Linked DNA regions of Homo sapiens: regions 2 and 3 are each linked to region 1. The links are contacts of gene promoters, found by promoter capture Hi-C in blood cells and fetal thymus (Javierre and others, 2016). All regions are on one chromosome and are shown on one strand. Each heading gives the region's core, a stretch centred on a gene start or on the middle of the fragment in contact. The rest is flanking DNA. Distances are from core to core; before and after follow the strand shown.

Region 1 (3,092 bases), core at 348-2,847:
TCAACTAATAGAAAAGAGAGGCATGGGAAGCATTGGTTAAACTAATGTTTCATGGAGGAAGTAGAATCTGAACTGGTTCTTGAAACCTGAATAGGATTTAGAAAGCTGTGGATGGTAGGAGGGCATCTTGGCAGAGCAAAAGTCTGAGCATCTACACAGTTTGTGATATGCAGGGCAACTTTCCAAGAAGAACGTCTAGTCCAGGTTGATTGGGTCCTAGGATGTTACATGAGTGCAAAAATGAGGCCACAACAAAGACTAACACTATTTAATTAACTTGGGATACTTCTTGATTGTCAGTCTTAAGAGTTGGGTCTTTATGTCATAGGCAGGGGGAGCCACTGAAACTTCCTACATAAGTAAAGGACATCATCTGATCCCTGCCTGAGAAAGATAAAGCTGGCTTCTGCATGTGAAATGCCGTACATCTGCTATTCTTAACTTTTTCTAACATAAAAATCATTGAAAATATTTTATAATACCCTCATTACTGTGCAGAAAATAAGTTCACAGATAACATATAACACCTATCACATACTTCAAAAAATGACCTATATAAAGTCTGACTGAATCTGAAGGAGAAATAAATAGAAAATGATTGATAATAATATAAATGTAAAATAAATATTTGGATACAACTACCCCATAGGATATAATGAAGTATGGAAGCGTCTATATGCAGAATCACCATGAATGTGACAGCTAAGCAACAGTAGAGACCTGCTACAAGGATGTAGAATTAATTGATGACTCAATATTATGAGAAACATTCCCACTGAGTACGTGATTTTTCAAACTAGTGAACACTTCTTGGTAAAGATGTGAACAAATCAAACACAGTCTTTCTTTGACTTGCAGGATAGTTGCATTCCTGGAGAATTAGCGAATATTAAAACCTGGCAAGAATATCTGTGTTTACATGCCAAATGGAGTACATTTTAGGCTTTTTTTTTTTTTTTTTTTTTTTCTCTGAGACGGAGTCTGGCTCTGTCGCCCAGGCTGGAGTGCGGTGGTGTGATCTCAGCTCACTGCAAGCTCCGCCTCCCGGGTTCACGCCATTCTCCTGCCTCAGCCTCCGGAGTAGCTGGGACTACAGGCGCCCGCCACCAAGCCGGGCTAATTTTTTGTATTTTTATTGGAGATGGGCTTTCACTGTGTTAGCCAGGATGGTCTCGATCTCCTGACCTCGTGATCCGCCCACCTGGGTCTCCCAAAGTGCTGGGATTACAGGTGTGAGCCACCGCGCCCGGCCTAGGCTTAGATTTTTGAAAGAAAAAGGTTTCACTCACCTAAATGTCTGGCAGGCATTTGACGTCCGTGGCTGAATAGCCATGCGTTGCTGCGTCTCTAACCTCTGCGGCCTCTGTACACTAAACGGCAGCAGTACCTCTCCAATTATGGTGGTGACCAATATCCAATCAATTTTCCACTCCCACAATCCAAGGAGTGTGCCCTGCCCCTGTTAAGAAGCACTGACTAATGCAGAGGCAGGGTTGGAAGCAGAGAGATGAGTTAGGATTTAATTAAAAGAGTAGAGAGAGAGGGGAAAGAAAAAAAGCAAGAGAGCCTTGGTGGTAGCATTGGAGACTGGCAAGAAGGAAAAAAATTAAGAGGCACTGATCTACCAGTGAGCAAAGGGTTGGCAATGCCCTTGGTAAAGTTTACATCACTGTGCAAATATTGTTGCAGTTGGAGTTAAATGTCATCACACTCACTGTACAGAGATGGTATCTGAAGCACTGAAAAGGTGCAATGACTTTTGCAAAGACACAGCACAGGTCAGGAATTGTGTTAGACACCCAGTGCCTTAGAACTACACTTTTACTGTAATTACTAATGCAAAGGAGCTTCTACTCAGCATGGGAAATTATAAGCAGAAAACTCGAGTAGAGCAAATATAAAGGTAGAAATAACTTCTGAAAATAGTCAAATTCCAAGTATTCTATTTATCACCTCTTGATGGAACACCTGGGAAACTCTAGGATTCCAAACAAAGACCAATATTCCACAATCCATCCACTTTTTTTGTTTGCTCATACCTCTAAATATTCATCAGTAACATTTGAGACAAAGGAAAGAGATAATTATGAGGGGAGAGTTTTTAAAAGATATTAAAGGTTAACAGAATTCTTGGCATTTGTGTCGTGTCAATTTCCATGTAATTATGCTCAATTCCCAGAATTCAGTGTCAGTTGTGCCTGTTAATGCTTAAAGATGATATCCTTGGAAAATAATTTATAAGATCATTTCTCAAATATTTCGGATTCAAACCAAGCACCCTGGCTAATAGGCTGATTATTATTAATGTTATTCTTGGATGGAGAGTGCTAGGAGGTCGTAAGTGGGATGTTGGGATCAAAGTGGATTTGTTATGAGAGTGTGGTTAGCTATCTCTCCTAAGAGCAGAATGACTGTGCTCGAAATGTTTATATAACCTGATTTACAAACCTCTTCTATTTTTGTTTGATAAATAATAAGAATGTGGGAAAGCACGCCAGTTCTCTGGAATATGACTGCCTTTTAGAAGAAGGAAAGGGAACCAGTGCTGATGTCTGCCTGTGGGGAAGTATGACCAACTGGCTTTGTGGAAAAACATTGAGACGCACAGGCCTAGATATTTTTTACATGTTTATTCATTCGTTCATTAATTCTTCTCCCATTTATCATTGAATGTGTTTTACCTGTTCTTTGCTGAGATCGAGTGATTATAAATAAGACACTCTCCCCTTTTCTGTTCTTTTGAAATTGTGTACATTCCCTTTGTAGTATTGACTCCAATTGTGATTCATTGATTATCTGTGCAATTATTTCTAACATTCATCTCTTCCAGCAGTCTGTAGCCATGGAGGTTGGATACCAAGGATATGACAGTCCCTGATGTAACACGCCACCTACCCTAGGATATGCTTGTTGAATAAATGTGAGAAGGGTGTTCTCATCCCTACTGGGCAATCAAAAATAATCTTTTCAACTAACTTACTCTGATCTTGATTTGGGAGAACATTTTCTAAAGCCAGTCTAATCTTGGCCTACCATGTTTTTCAATCTCTTGGGCTCTGTGCATTTACACATCTGTGTCTTCAGGAAATGAA
Region 2 (3,092 bases), core at 238-2,737, 250 kb after region 1:
GCACCCTAAACAGCTAGACATAACTATGAAGGATTATCATCACCCAAATCCTTGAGCAAAGGGAGAACTGGTAGTATTCGAAGTATCCAGCCATCCTGGGCATGCAAGGTACCTCTAGGTTATAACTGAGATCGTATTTGAAGTGGTTCTGTGCTCAAGTGGTTTGAGAAGCTCCGAGCAACATTCTGAGGCTGTAATCCCATAAGACCTTTGCTGTGTTCCAGAAAAGTCCACCCCTGACAAATCAAAGGAAATGTATGTGTTGGGGGAAGGGAGAAAGACAAGATATTCTAGCCTTGCCATGAGGACCTCCCTCTGATGGCTGCTGTCGTCTCTCAGTCCCTTGACGTACCTGTCTGGTCTTCCCTTCAGGTGCACTATTGACAACCGGGTCACCCGGGTGGCCTGGCTAAACCGCAGCACCATCCTCTATGCTGGGAATGACAAGTGGTGCCTGGATCCTCGCGTGGTCCTTCTGAGCAACACCCAAACGCAGTACAGCATCGAGATCCAGAACGTGGATGTGTATGACGAGGGCCCTTACACCTGCTCGGTGCAGACAGACAACCACCCAAAGACCTCTAGGGTCCACCTCATTGTGCAAGGTAGGTGGGCGGGGCTTGGCGGGGAGATCTGGCTGGCCAGCCTGGAAAGCCTTCAGGTAAAGGTTTGTTCTCTGATCCTCAACAGAGATGAGTTATCCTTATTCTACGCATCTGGGGTCCAGGGCACATTTCTGGTTGTCATTTTGCAGTTAGAAGCTAAATTTTCCAGTCATTTTCATTGAGTGGAACTAGGAATTGTTTTTTTCATTTTTGTTCCAATAATATATTTTCTCAGGAAATTATCTTGTAATTATTGCTCTTCTTGGCTTTTTTCTCCCCTAAGTTTTAGTTATTTTTGTTTGTTTGTTTTTTGTTTTGTTTTGTTTTGTTTTTTAGATTTCATCCAATTCCAAGACTGTGTTATGTTTAAAACCAGACTTTTAATGCACTTTTGGAAGTACAGGTATGCCATGTCCCCCTCCAGCCTTGAACGAAAGCAGAGCCAACCAGGATGCACTGGGCACTGCCCTCAGCTGCATCCTTCACAAGCACCTGCTTGTTTCCAGCTCACTTGCGCCTCCTCTCCTCTCCCAGCCAGGGGTTTTGGATGCCATTTCTCCCATATAATACTGGTGTCTGATTCTCCCTGTTTTGATTCCATCCCAACTCTCCTGGCCTTCTTCTCCTCCCCTGACTCCTAGTTCATGAGGCCTTGTATGTTTGTGTGTGTGTGTGTGTGTGTGTGTGTGTGTGTGTGTGTGAGAGAGAGAGAGAGAGAGAGAGAGAATATGTGTGTTGGTTATGCTCTCTTAGACCCTGGGAATGGAGCTCACCTCTTCCCACAAGGCAGAACCAGTCCTGGGGCATTCAGACAACACTTAACCCGGTTGAAGGATTCCTAGTTAGTGAGCAAGAGCTGGCATCACACTTGGCCACTTTCTGGCTGTGAGACCTTAATCAAGTTATTACCGTGTCTCAGGGTTCTCTTTCTGTAAAGGGGGTCAACGTGAGGATTGAACTGTAAACGTACTGACATAGAAAACACGTAGAAGAGGGCGTGGCACATACAAGTGCTATTTCAGTGTTAGCTATGGAGCTTTCTTTTCTCTTTTTTAGGACTTTTGTAATTTTTAAAATTTTTGAGCATCTTTTACAGTGGGTCAAATATCTTATTTTGTGATGTCAGCAGTATAGCCCCTGAGCAGCGGCATGCCAGATCCAGTGCTGGAGCCCTTTCCCAGGCTGATCCCGAGGCCCTTTCAACCAGGGACGTGTAGCTCCAGGGTGACAAACTCCTCTCCTAGGGGCTCCTTCCACCAGTCCCCTTGTCGGTGTGTTCAAGAAAAGGGTAAAGAACTATGGGATGATTGGTTAGAGACAGAATAGGAAGGAAGGCAGCTTGAGAAGGAAGAACTGAAGTGAGCCGGAAGAAGGAAGGGGAGGCCTGCTGTTTGACAGTAGGGGAAGGCGGAACTTGGGTCGTGATCAGCACTGTTGAGTGAGGCAGGGTGAGCAGGACTGAGAGGAGGACACATGAGAACAAGGTGATGCTGGACCTGGCTGTGGGCAGAACGTATGCCAGGGGACATGGGAATCCTTGATGCTGTGGCCCAAGTTTGGTCATGCCAAGTTTTTATTATATTTTGCTTACTCTTTCTTCCCCAAAGGAAATTACAATGGCTGTTTAAAAAATGATTCTATAAATGAATACTTTTTGAACTGATGCATGCAAACAGCAATTTTAAAGAAAATAGAATTGCATAGAAGGTATCAGAGTGTATTACAAAGAGTGGAGTAGGTATTGCCATGTGAGATTTTTGTTTCAGTTTGTGTACATTTTTTAATGTAAAATACATTTTTTATTATGGATAGGGAGGCCAAAAATGCTTGAGAATCTCCACTCTGTGGGCAGGGCTGGTGAATGCCCTGGTGCCACCATCTGCATACTCTACCAGGTGGTGGTTTGGAAGCTATTGCTCAGCCCCCCTCCTGTCCTGCCCCAACCCCTGCACACTTAGTGTTGAGAAAAGAATGCCTAGCATTGACAATGAGAGACTGGGAACTAGGAACTATTAGAGATATTTGCTTTAGGAAGCAGGGCCTCATGGAACTGGAAAGTGGAAGGAATTGTGAAAAGTGCTAATGTCTCCTTGAAAACTGGATCATATTTTTGTCATTTTCTTTCTTCAGCCACCCCCACTCACACACACCCCCACACCCCTGCCCTGAACACCTCGCAGAATGCCTGATACAAAGTGAACATTTAATAAATGCTTATTGAAGCAAATGGCTAGAATTAGAGCCAGGTGATCTTATATGGGCTCCAAGAGAGACGGCTGGGTGTTTTTGGGGGTGAGATGATGGGAGGGGGTGAGAGGATGGAGTCTACATCAATCTTCACTCACATCCAAGCTAATGGAAAATGTCTAATCCCTTGCTAGGTGTTTACATCTGTGACTTAGCTAGGTGCCCTCTCGCATGACACACCACCTCAAGTATTGGAATCTCATCTTGGGCTAATTTTCGAATGCTGATGGGTGTATTGAT
Region 3 (3,092 bases), core at 364-2,863, 220 kb after region 1:
CCTTTACAGTCTTACAATCTAATTAAGCGGTAGCTTCAAACATGAATTTCTTTAGTATTTTAAAAGCGTAAGTTGAGCAGATAAGCTTTTTTTTTTAACTTCCCTATTCTAAAACTGAAAGACCAGCTGATTCCAAAGTCCCTGAGTATTATTAATTACCAGTGGCTGCAATCAATGCACAAGGCTTGTCTAGAAAGCTATTTCCTCCTTAGGTGAATGGTTGGGAATACAATATATGGTAATCAACAATTTGAGAGGGCTGAGCATGGATTGAGGCTGAGAAAAAGCTGGGACTTGGCATTGCATCTCTCCTGTGCAGATGGCAGAGAATAAATCTTGACTTTGCAAGGAAGATAAAGCAAGGTGGAGGTGTTTTCATCGCAATCGCACAGCACATAAATGGCAGAGAGAAGAAAGAAACCTCGGAACACGGGCTTCCTCTCCAAGGACAGCTACTGCTGTTTTGGAGAAAGCTTATCTGCTCTTATTTCACCATGAGAGAACTTCTGTCCTCAAGAGCCACGGAAAGGGTACCAGAAATAGATGAGAGCCCACCAACAAAAGGAATGATGAAGTGGCCCTTTAAATATAAATCTCTGGCACCCCCAAACTCTCTGGATGTTCCCTTACGTATTCAAATGAGATCGCAGCGTCAGATTGGTATGCATTAGGCTGGTTTCAATGAAAATTAACATGTAATTGCTTCAAATGAAGTAAGTGAGGAGGTAATCTGTTCTTAAATTGGATTCCCGGGATTTTGTGGTACCATAATGCAGCTGTGAAATGAAATATATTTTAAGGATGATGTCCTCAAGGGGGTGAAGGGGCTGGGAGGGGGAGGAGTAGAGATAGATAGTGTATAGTAGAAGCGCCTCTCCCCCCAGCCTGCCACATTCTTTCTCTGTCTCATTCTCCAGTTTCCAGCGGATGAAAAGATGTTCTCTCATCCATGGGTGGCCCCCATGCTCTGGGCCCTGGGACCTGGGCAGACAGTGCCCCACATTGGCATCAGCCGGTCTCCTCTACTTCTTACTGTGTCTGGAGCTTATTCCCAGAGGCTGTAGCTCCCCAGGGCTGTAGCTCTGTGGTCACCCTGGACACTGGATTTGTAAGGAGAAGGTGCTCGTCCTGCAAGTGGTGTCTACTGAGATCATCAATGGCTGAAGGGTGCACTGCTACAGTTGGGCAAATTTTCCAAAGCACACTGTGCAGTAAGAAAAACCATCACTCCTTGTACTCCTGGAATGGGGACATGTGCGCTTGACATCATGACTGACCCTTCTGATATCAAAGAGTGGAGCTGGGGTCGCAGCAGCAGGAACAGCCAATTCCATTACCACCACCGGCCTCCACAGCCTGGGTTCAGCCAGACCAGGCACCCCTGCCAGCAGTGATGATATGGTCTGTGAAGTCTGAAGATGAGCCTGGGAATAATTAACCTTCTTACCGTTCAATCAGGACGGGAAGCAGCTGGGTGAGGAGTCAGTGCAGGTTAATGCATTAAATTGTTTGCCTTTGCCATCCTAGGCTGAAATGGGATTTTCAGTCACAATGGAAATAAGCTGGCAGTCTTCTGGTCCCGTGGCATCACGCCTCTCTGCCAAAGAGCCATATCTGATGGGCTTTGGGGACCTTCTGCACCAAGGCTACAGAAGGGCAGAGCTGTTAAATGAAATGCAATCACCTGGCAATGCACAGGCAGTGCTGGGTTAGGGTTCACACAGCAGAGCAGTGCCACTGGTCTAGACCGAGTCCCCATCAAGGGCTAGCATGAGAATGGCATGGCTGCCTTGCATCAGCTCCTGGGGAGATGCAGATTTATAACACGCTATATAAAGAGTATATGTTCTGGTGTAAAAAGCCCCCATCAGAGCTAGAGAGAAGGGAAATTGACAAATCTCAGAAGAATGCGATTCTGGGCATTCTCTATTGCACGCGAATCAGGACCCCCGTCTGAGCCCCCCGCTTGCCTTCCCTCCCAGTCACAGCTTGGTTCTACAGCTCGGCTGATGATTTTTTTTTTTTAGTTCTTGTCTTTGTTTCCTCCTGTTTATGTTGCTATTTTCTTTCTGCACATGTTGAGCAGCTCTGGCTTTAAAACTGATCAGAGCTCATGGCTCCTTCAAATGTAGACGTTGTATTGCTACAGTCTCTCAATATATGGGACCAAGATTTTTGAGAGAATGCCAGAATGTTTCTGCTCTTCCCAGGAGTTGGTAGACTTAGAAATTTGAAGAAGAGAAAAGGGAAAAGAATGAGAGTGAGGGGTGACAAAACTCAGTTTACCCGACTGAGTTTAGGTCTCCCTAAAAACAGTGGCCTGAGACACTTTAGACCCAGCTAATGGCTTTTATTTCCTCCTCTAAGGTTGCAAGAGACAGTGTCTTTGCTGTGGGCAAAAGAGGGACCAGACTATGACCAATGATTAAATTTTGAATCACTCCATATAAAGAATAGGACCTCTTTTGAAGACCAAATCTGTAAACCACATTGGATAAATCATCTATGTTGCTGGCTCCTTTCTTTCTTCATCTGGTAGTAGGCATAGAATAGTATTTGCCTCCCTGCTTAGGGTTCTGCAAGGATTAGTAGGCGTTAATATCCACAGGAGTCCCCAGAGAGAGATATGCCAATAGCAAGAAAAGAGAGCTTAGCGTCCTTTTCTAGATTCTCCGTGGATGTGGAATCTACTGTACAGTTTATTTGTCGTCTGAACCCCAAGGTGCCTCTTGGTAGAGTATGCATAGGCTGCTGCAAGCTTAGCTCTGCTGGAAGAGGTGGGATGGAATGTATTTTGTGGGGAGTGCGTGTGTGTGTATGTTTGAGAGAGAGAGAGCACGTACACTCGTGATTTTTCCATGATCTAATATCTTGAATTAATCATTGTAATGCCTTTTTCTGCTATCAAAATATGTCCAGTGGTCACCTTGATATGCTCATCTGGTTTAACTCTCCTCAAAGTTTGCAGTGTTCACAGGAGAAAAGTAGAAGGGGCCAGCGGTTTCATTCCCATTTTAGAGATGGGGAGGGTTTCACCGCAGGAGCCTGAGGATATGCAATTCATCTTAATCACTAAAGTTGTCTCAGGCAAT

The links. Contacts are between HindIII fragments. The CHiCAGO score rates a contact against its expected background, and 5 or more counts as called.
Region 2: a contact is called between a fragment that was not itself captured here and the fragment with the promoter of NTM-AS3 in region 1, in 1 of 17 cell types (monocytes). The highest score is 5.5, in monocytes.
Region 3: a contact is called between a fragment that was not itself captured here and the fragment with the promoter of NTM-AS3 in region 1, in 1 of 17 cell types (M0 macrophages). The highest score is 6.1, in M0 macrophages.

The regions. Positions count from the first base shown.
Region 1 is chr11:131,895,736-131,898,827 of GRCh38, forward strand. It overlaps NTM-AS3 (NTM antisense RNA 3), which reads right to left and starts at 1,598. Exons shown (of 2, transcript NR_199062.1): 1 at 1,290-1,598. All of the region lies in intron 1 of NTM (neurotrimin), which reads left to right. The HindIII fragment of the contact is 6,910 bases long and covers 1-3,092 here.
Region 2 is chr11:132,145,910-132,149,001 of GRCh38, forward strand. It overlaps NTM (neurotrimin), which reads left to right. Exons shown (of 9, transcript NM_001352005.2): 3 at 373-605. Among named protein-coding and RNA genes, the nearest start is that of NTM-IT, 140 kb to the right of the region's middle. The HindIII fragment of the contact is 6,073 bases long and covers 1-3,092 here.
Region 3 is chr11:132,118,111-132,121,202 of GRCh38, forward strand. The region is part of intron 2 of NTM (neurotrimin); the gene reads left to right. Among named protein-coding and RNA genes, the nearest start is that of NTM-IT, 160 kb to the right of the region's middle. The HindIII fragment of the contact is 2,285 bases long and covers 472-2,756 here.